Linked DNA regions of Homo sapiens: region 1 is linked to region 2. The links are contacts of gene promoters, found by promoter capture Hi-C in blood cells and fetal thymus (Javierre and others, 2016). All regions are on one chromosome and are shown on one strand. The core of a region is centred on a gene start or on the middle of the fragment in contact, and the rest is flanking DNA. Distances in the headings are between cores, read along the strand shown.

Region 1 (4,051 bases), core at 640-3,139, about 13 Mb after region 2:
CAGGGCCCCCGCCCAGCTGCGACTGCAATGGCCGGCTGCTCCAACTATACCTCCAACTTCTTAGTCGGACTGCTCTTCCCCTCTGCTGCTTATTATTTAGGAGCCTGTATTTTTATTATCTTCGCCAGCTTCCTCATCACCTTCTTGACCTTTACCTTCTTCAAAGTCCCTGAGACCCATGGCAGGGCTTTTGAGGATATCACATGGGCCTTTAAAAGGCAGGCACATGGTGCAGATAGATCTGGGAAGGATGGCATCATGGAGATGAACAGCATCCAGGCTGCTAAGGAGACCACCACCAATGTCTAAGTCATGCCTCCTTCCACCTCCCTCCCAGCATGGGAAAGCCACCTCTCCCTGAATGAGAGACCTCATCAGGATGAACCCAGGACTGCTTCTGAATGCTGCTACTTGATTCCTTTCTTATCCCACGCACTCCATGCGCACCTCAAGGCTGGGGTTTGTTGGATTTTCAATGGTTTTTTAAATATTTTATTTCCTGGACATTCTCTTCTGCTTAGGAGAGACCAAGTGAACCTACCTTCATTTCAGGAGGCAATGGCCACTTGGCATATGACAACTTTGCCAGTTTTTCCTTCCTTGGGTTCTAATATTGCCGCACTAGGGGATATAGGAGAGGAAAAGTAAGGCGCAGTTCCCCCAACCTCAGACTTATCAGGAAGAAGATATACATATGAGTGTGGAAGGCAGACGGGGTTTATGTAAGAGCACCTTCCTCACTTCCATATAGCTCTACAAGGCAAATTAACTTGAGTTTTATTTATTTTACCCTCTGGTTTAATTACATAATTTTTTAAGTTCTGGGATACAGGTGCAGAATGCGCAGGTTTGTTACATAGGTATACATGTCCCATGATGGAAATGTTTATTTTTTTAAGTGTAATTTTGCCAAATAATAAAAACAGAAGGAAATTGAGATTGGAGGGAGGTGTTTAAAGAGAGGTTATACAGTAGAAGATTTCATGCTGGGGAGGTTAGCGTGCAATATGAAGAATTTAGGGAGAAATGTAGTTCATTATTGGAGGGTATATTATGTGGTGCCTGAAGTCTGCACATTACCTCTTGACAATTTCTGTCCTTCAGATGGAAACTCTTAATTTCCCATAAAAGTCATATGCCTACATAATAAAGTTATTGATTTCCTTTGGAACTTTTTTCTTTTAATAGTTTACATGTAGTAGTACTTGAAATCTAGGATTATTAACTAATATGGGCATTGTAGTTAATGGTGGTTGATGGGTTCTAATTTTGAATGGAGTCAAGGGAAGGGAAAGTTATTTCTAGAAAGCTTGTTCCCCCTCACTGGACCAAACAACTCCTCCTTGTAGGAGACTCATTACTTTTGAAGTAATCCCACCACCTATCTGGTGGGAGAGCCATCCAAATGAGAAACTTAAAATAATCAGTTCTTGGTAGAGATTCATTATTTCTCCATTTTGTGCTTTAGGAGATTTTAGGTGTTGATTTTGTTTTATTTTAACTCATATCTTTAAAGGAATTCCCCAAAGAATGTTTATAGCTAACTTGGAATTTATAACCTCAGCTCTGGGATTTTTTTCTGAACGATTATTATCTAAAGGTGTGTTGTTGCCTTTAGGGTCATGCCATGCTTGTCTATGTCTGTTACCATGTCACTGTGGTCCTATGCCAAGTGCCCTTAGGGGGTCTCAATCTTTCCAACAGACCATGTTCGAGATAGTATGAGTCAATGTACAGTGTAGCCCACACTTGAGAGGATGAATATGTGTGCACTGTCCCTTTGCTCTGGATGGAAATAGGTTATTGTTGACTTATTTTTTCTGTGTTCCTACAGCCCCTTTTTCATATGTTGCTCAATTTCCCTTCCCCTTCTTGGTGCTTACACATCTCAGACCCTTTAGCCAAACCCTTGCTGATAACGGTATCTTGGTTCTCAGTTCTCACTGTTTCCTCTGGTCACGGAGACTTCAAATAAAAATGCACATAGCTATGGAGTGGGGTTTAGCTGGAAAAGGTGACCTTCTTCCAACTTCACGTCAACTTCTGGCTCCTCAAACAGTAGGTTGGCAGTTAGGCAGGGAAGTTGTTTTCCCATTTCTCACTGAGCAGATTGTGAATATTTCCATATGGATTTTCTATTATTAACATTACCCTGATTCTTTGTTTTAAAATAAAAATTCTGAATGTACGCACACAAAAAAACTCTAAATGTTCCATATATCTAATTTATGCTTACCTTTGGCTGTGGCATGAACCACAGCAGCCTGAGAGATAACCTGGTAAGTTTCAAAACCCAAATACGACAAAGCTGAGAGTAAAAGGCCTCTTTTGAAAGTTCCTGGGTTTCCCATTACCTATGGAAACAATTATGTTAAGAGTTACAAACTTTGAAAATTTGAAGGTACTGCTACCCCAAGCAAAAATTACATGAATTTTCTCCCACCCCCAAAGCAATCGATCATAATACTGGAAGCTTAAAAATTACTTCATCAAAATCTTTAGTAAAACTATCTCAAAGCGTATCTTATTGAGAAAAAGATATCCCCTGGAGTCGCCGCTCATCTAAAAATCACACTCCTGCTGGAAAGGAAGAGCTACAACTTATTTGCTACAACTTATTTGCAAATGCATGGATATTGCAAATTGTATGAAGTAAAATATGAGACACCAACACATAATAAAAATGAATCTTACAGACAAGATTATCATATATAGTAATTACTACATATAAAAATGTACATGGCTAACTTTTAAATTTTTTTGTAGAGACAGGGTCTCACTGTGTTGCCCAGGCTGGTTTCAAACCCCTGGACTCAAGCAATCCTTCCGCCTCGGCTTCCCAAAGTGCTGGGATTACAGGCTGAGCCAAGGGGCCAGGCCTAAAATGGGACTTCAAACTCATCATTGTTCCAATTTGAAAACTTACGGCTAACTAGTTTCATACTTAGAACTCCTCCCATCTCTCTGCCTATATTATCTATAACCTCCCCATTTGGTTATAAACTTCCAAGGAAGGGGAATATGCCAAATTTTAACCACCCCTCCCCACCATCAGTCCCATAATAATTCTGAAAGATTTTAACTGAGCAGTTAAAAATTTGAGTTTAAAATAATGAAACCCCTAGTTCATGTGAAATATATCATATGCATTAATGCCATTCCAATTCCCTGACAAGAATAAACAGAGGCCCACGAGCAGTCTAATAGAAATACCAGAACTGAGACTACAACATGCCGACAACCTTCATTGACGTTATGCAGATACAACGGGCAACTGAGAAATAAACATTTTTAAACAAAAACCTAAACAGTATGAAATCTCTGCTTCTGAGTCGTAGAACTTTTTAAATCACACACCACACTTTTCAAAGTCTGAAAGGGGCAGCCTCAAGCGCTGTTGTATCTGTCATCGCCTACAGGGAGAATAATTTCACAGCGGTCAAGGTTCTTTCCCGTCCTGTTTTACATTTCGCACAAGAAGGGCGGGTAGCAGGCAGCTTCTGGGGCGCGTGGGGGCAAACCCCACTCCTTCTCTGACAGCCCCAGTTAAGGATAGTGGAGGTTTGCAAAATGGAAGGGACCTGTCCGGGCGTTCCAGGCACAGTGGCCCCGAGTTCTTTCCTCGGTTCACCACATTCCTTAGGCAGCGCGGGGCCGCCACCACTTAAGTTAAGGGGGAGCCGGAACCCACTGAGTAGGAAGTGAGGAGCGGGAGCCAGGACCACGGGGGTACCTCGAAGCCGCGGAATCGACAGGGGCCGCAATGCCCGCGGCTGCCCGAAGTCCCCGCAGGGAGACGAGACCCCGGGGCGGCTCCACGTCGGAAAGGCAGAAGGCGCCACAGTCGAGCAGCCAGCGCCATGACCTGCAACTTGCGGGCTGACCCTGCACTACTTCAGGCAGCTACGGAGGCGGGCGGGGCTAAAGGAGATTCAATCCTTCCGGAAAGAACCGCGCCCGCCCGCCTCCTGCACAGCACCTCTTCCGCCTCCTGCCCAGCACCTCTTCCGCCCCCATGGTTTCCGGTGCACGGGCTTAGGGGGTGGGAAAT
Region 2 (4,636 bases), core at 1,463-3,962:
GTGGCGCAATCTCGGCTCACTGCAGCCTCCACCTCCCAGGCCCAAGCAATTCTCGTGCCTCAGCCCCCTGAGTAGCTGGGATTACGGGTGTGCTCCACCACGCCGGGCGACTTTTTTCTGTGTTTTTAGTGAAGACGGGGTTTCACCATGTTGGCCAGGCTGGTCTCAAACTCCTGACCACAAGTGATCCGCCCACCTTGGCCTCCCAAAGTGCTGGGATTACAGCCGTGAGCCACTGCGCGCGGCCTAAAAACATCCTTAAAATCATTCTAAAATCCCATTAGTTTATATTTAACAAATGTCTCTAACTTACTGGAACTGGAAAATCCATCTAACATAAATAACAATTCTATGTAAATCTATGGTACAGAGTTTTCAGACTATAATCTGATTTTATCTATTTAGAAATTTTGAGAAATAGATCAAACAAAAGTTTTTATTTTCATTTACTTACAGTATTTGTAGGGGGAACAGCTTTACAGAAGATAAAAAATTTGAGTTCTCTTAATATAGTTAAGAAAAACATTTTTATGTGAAAATTTTAAATATATCAGCAAAATAATAGAGTGAATATTGATTGTGAGTGAATTACCCTAAACAGAAGAGTTTTTAAAATGTAAATAGGCCAGGTGTGGTAGCTCAGGTTCTGTGACACTTTGGGAGGCCCAGGCGGGAGGATCCCTTGATTCCAGGAGCTCAAGACCAGCCTGGGCAACAAAAGGAAACCCTGTATCCACTAAAAATACAAAAATTAGCTGGGCATGGTGACGTGGCCTGTAGTCCCAGGTACTTGGGAGGCTGAAGTGAGAGGAACACTTGAGCCTGGGAGGTCAAGGCTGCAGTGAGCTATGATGGTGCCACTGCACTCCAGCCTGGGCGACAGAGCAAGACCCTGTCTCAAAAACAAAATAAAAGGTGGGCACAGTGGCTCACCCTTGTAATTCCAGCACTTTGGGAGGCTGAGGTGGGCGGATAGCTTGAGCCTCAGGAGTTTGAGACCAACCTGGGCTATATGGTGAAACTCCATCTCTACTATTAAAACAAATATTAAAATAAAAATAAACAAAATGTAAGTAGAAGCTAACTTTTTATAAAATAAAGTTATCCATATAGAGGTATTATCATTATCTCCTTCTGAATACTCCCCCCAATAGACAGTATTTGGAGTTGCCAACATGATCATATTCTATTGATTTATTTTTATTTTTATTTTTGAGACAGGGTCTAGCTGTGTCACTCAGTGCAGTGGTGCAATCAGGGCTCACTGCAGCCTCAACCTCTTGGGCTCAAGTGATCCTTCCACCTCAGCCTCCCAAGTAGCTGGGACTACAGGCAGGTGCCACCATGCCCAGCTAATTTAAAAATTTTTTGTAGAGACAGGGTCTCACTTTGTTGCCCAGGCTGGTCTCAAACTCCTGGAATCAAGTGATCCTCTCACCTGGGCCTCCACGTAGTATTGGAATTGCAGGCGTGAGCTCCCGCCCCTGGCCACACATTATTTTAGACTATGAATTTGTTCCTCTCCGGTGCAAATAACATGTCAAATCAAAAACATGTATAGTTCTGCAGTGGTAAACAAAAGTGTGTTTCTATTACTAAGATGCTCATCCTTCAAGACTGAGCTAAATGTGAAGCCAGTCTGAAGACATTCTGAGGCAAAATTAATCATGTTCTTCTTTGTACTTCTGTGGCATTTGTTTGTTCTTTTTTTTGAGACACGGTGTCACTTTGTGGTCCAGGCTGGAGTGCAGTAGTGTGGTCTTGGCTCACTGAAGCCTCGACTTTGGGCTCAAGCAATCCTACCATGTCAGCCTCCTGGGTAGCTGGGACCACAGGCACACACTTACCATGTGTGGCTTATTTTTGTTTTAGGTTTTTTTTTTTTTTTTTTTTTTGTAGAGACGGGGTCTCCCTGTATTGCTCAGGCTGGTCTCAAACTCCTGGCCTCAAGAGATCTTCCTGCCTAAACCTCCCAAAGCGCTGGGATTACAGGTGTAAGCCACCACGGCCAGCCACATTTTGTATATTGCGGTGTCTCAATTGTATTACATTATATTCTAGCCAATTTTCAGGTATTTTCCTCCACTGTTTAAGCACTGTGGATTCCCAGTTTAATCTAGTATTTTGTATCCTCTGCTCCTAGCTCAGTCCTGGCAATAGATTCAGTACCTCTTTAACAAGTAATGAATCAATGTGTATATGGATGTGAATGATTTCCGAAGACAAATCTGGTAACACCTATCAATATTACATGAACAATTCCATTTATTTTCCTCCAACCCGATGATTCAATTAAGTTATCACTCATTTTTGTTCAAATCGTATATTCTTTCTTCTGTGCCAACAGGCTAGAATCATTTTCCGCAAAGGAAACAGTTTTTAGTGATGTCGTCCACGAGAAAAAAAAATATTTAACCCTGGCTTCTGGGCATTGTCATTCTCGTACAGCCCTCTGCCCCTCCACACTGTTATAAAGAAGGTAAAATTCTAGGAAGGAGGAGCCGCTGAGCCAAGGACAGAGCGGCGGGCTCCCAGCTCAGCTGGCGGATAACGCGCGCGGCCGGGAAGGCGGCAGGCGGGCGGCAGGCGGGCGGCAGGCGGGCGGCAGGCGGGCGGCAGGCGGGCGGCAGGCGGGCGGCAGGCGGGCGGCAGATTCTGCGCACGCGCAGGCAGCCCAGCTGCCAGTCAGGCGTCCCGGGCTGGGCATGCGCCACTTGTGCGGCAGTCGGGTGGGAAGCCGTGTCTCGCAGTCGTGGACTCGTGCAGCTGGGGCGTCCGCAGCCGCTCGTCACCCGCGTGATGCTGTTTCTGGCGTTGGGCAGCCCGTGGGCGGTCGAACTGCCTCTCTGCGGAAGGAGGACTGCATTGTGTGCGGCCGCCGCGCTCCGAGGTCCCCGGGCCTCTGTCTCCCGGGCGTCCTCCAGCAGCGGGCCTTCGGGGCCGGTAGCCGGCTGGAGTACGGGGCCTTCGGGAGCCGCGCGCCTTCTCCGGCGTCCGGGTCGAGCGCAGGTAGGGCGTCCGAGGTCTGGTGTCCCAAGTGAGGCGGGGAGGGCGGGCGTCGTGTCGGGCCTGGGGAGCCCCAGCGGCTCTTCGCGACCTCTCCCAGGTGTCCGTGGCTGGAGCGCGGGAGGAGCCCCCTCTGCGGGGCTTGCAGAAGTAGCAGGCCGAGGGCCCCGGGGTCCTCAGCCTCCGCGAGTCCAGGAGAACGGCTGGAAAGTGCTTACTTTTATGGTAGTTCCAAATCCAGAGGGTTTGTGGTGACAACTATATGTAGTTCCTTTTCTGCCCTTGAGTAGAAGCTTAGAAGTGTTAATTTGCAAAAAATTGGATGCAGCACCTGGAAATAGAACCGAAAGAGCCAGGTTAACCTGACTTTGAGCTTGTTCTACTTTTATGAGGTGGCTGTACTTTTAAGAATTACTTTGGTCCCTGGGAAAAGGGGGATGCAGATGTTAATTCTTTTATTTTGATCTGAATAAATTGTCTTCTAATTCTACTCTGTAAAATATCAGGATTGGCAAACCTGGTTAAAACTTGGAAGAAATGCTTAAAATGGAAATTGGAATCTAATTACATTTCAGCATTGAGGAATTAGGCATGCCTTTTACATTTTGAAGTGTATACACTGTGAAACTCATTTTCAGATGTATGGGGAACGCTTCTGTTCCCTTGAAATTTGATGTAGGATTTCAAGTAAATTTTATTTCTTTTTTTTTGGAGGTGAAGTCTCGCTCTGTCACCCTGGTTGGAGTGCAGTGACGTGATCTTGGCTCACTGCAACCTCCGCCTTCCGGGTTCAAGCGATTCTCCTGCCTCAGCCTCCCCAGTAGTTGGGATTACAGGCGCGCTCCACCACACCCCGGCTGATTTTTTTTTTGTATTTTTAGTAGAGACGGGGTTTCACCGTGTTGGCCAGGCTCGTCTTAAACTCCTGACCTCAAATCATCCTCCTGCCTCGGCCTGTCAAAGGGTTGGGATTACAGGCGTGAGCCGCTGTGCCCAGCCAAATTTTATTTCTTGTCAAGAAATAAGAGGACCAGGGGATACACGGTATTTACAAGGTCTTTAGAGAAAGATTTGATCTCTTTAATACTATCATATAAATATTTTAGCAGTATTTGTAAAAGGCCTGGACTTTAAATATAATGTGAGTTTGCGGAGTATTTTACTTAAATTATTTTAGTAAAATTAAATTTTATTTCTTAGAGATGGGGTCTTGCCATGTTGCCCAGGCTGGCCTTAAACTCCTGGGCTCAAGTGATCCACCTCAGCCTCCCCAGTAGCTGGGGCTATAGACGTGTTCCATTACACCAGCTAAATGTATTTATTTTTTGAAAAGGTGTTGCATTTAAATAGAATGGAAATGATGTCGTCATTAACAGTGGAGTAGAAGAAACTGTTACTATTTTTACTTGTTCAAGGTCACACTAGACCTAGAAACCTGAGAGCTGGGATGCTAAGCTAACAAACTCCAGCTCTGCAGTTTTCTACTTGTGACTAGAATTAAGGCAAGCCATTCTGTCAGCCAATTTATTTCTTTAACTCTGTAGATTATTTGGGAGAATTCCTTATGTCACCTCATGTGACAAGTTCTTTTCATTACAATTTTATTTTATTTTTTTGAGACGGAGTCGTG

Evidence for each region. The method cuts DNA at HindIII sites, captures the fragments that hold promoters and counts their contacts. A CHiCAGO score of 5 or more calls a contact.
Region 1: a contact is called between a fragment that was not itself captured here and the fragment with the promoter of TMEM70 in region 2, in 1 of 17 cell types (non-activated CD4 T cells). The highest score is 6.6, in non-activated CD4 T cells.

What each region holds. Positions count from the first base shown.
Region 1 is chr8:86,504,759-86,508,809 of GRCh38, forward strand. RMDN1 (regulator of microtubule dynamics 1) reads right to left here and starts at 3,928. Exons shown (of 10, transcript NM_016033.3): 1 at 3,734-3,928; 2 at 2,237-2,354. The coding sequence starts at 3,862. It also overlaps the pseudogene SLC2A3P4. RefSeq lists an enhancer at 3,673-3,842. The HindIII fragment of the contact is 1,164 bases long and covers 1,308-2,471 here.
Region 2 is chr8:73,973,483-73,978,118 of GRCh38, forward strand. TMEM70 (transmembrane protein 70) reads left to right here and starts at 2,713. Exons shown (of 3, transcript NM_017866.6): 1 at 2,713-3,009. The coding sequence starts at 2,800. RefSeq lists silencers at 2,502-2,581, 2,631-2,846, 3,012-3,061. The HindIII fragment of the contact is 7,182 bases long and covers 1-3,297 here.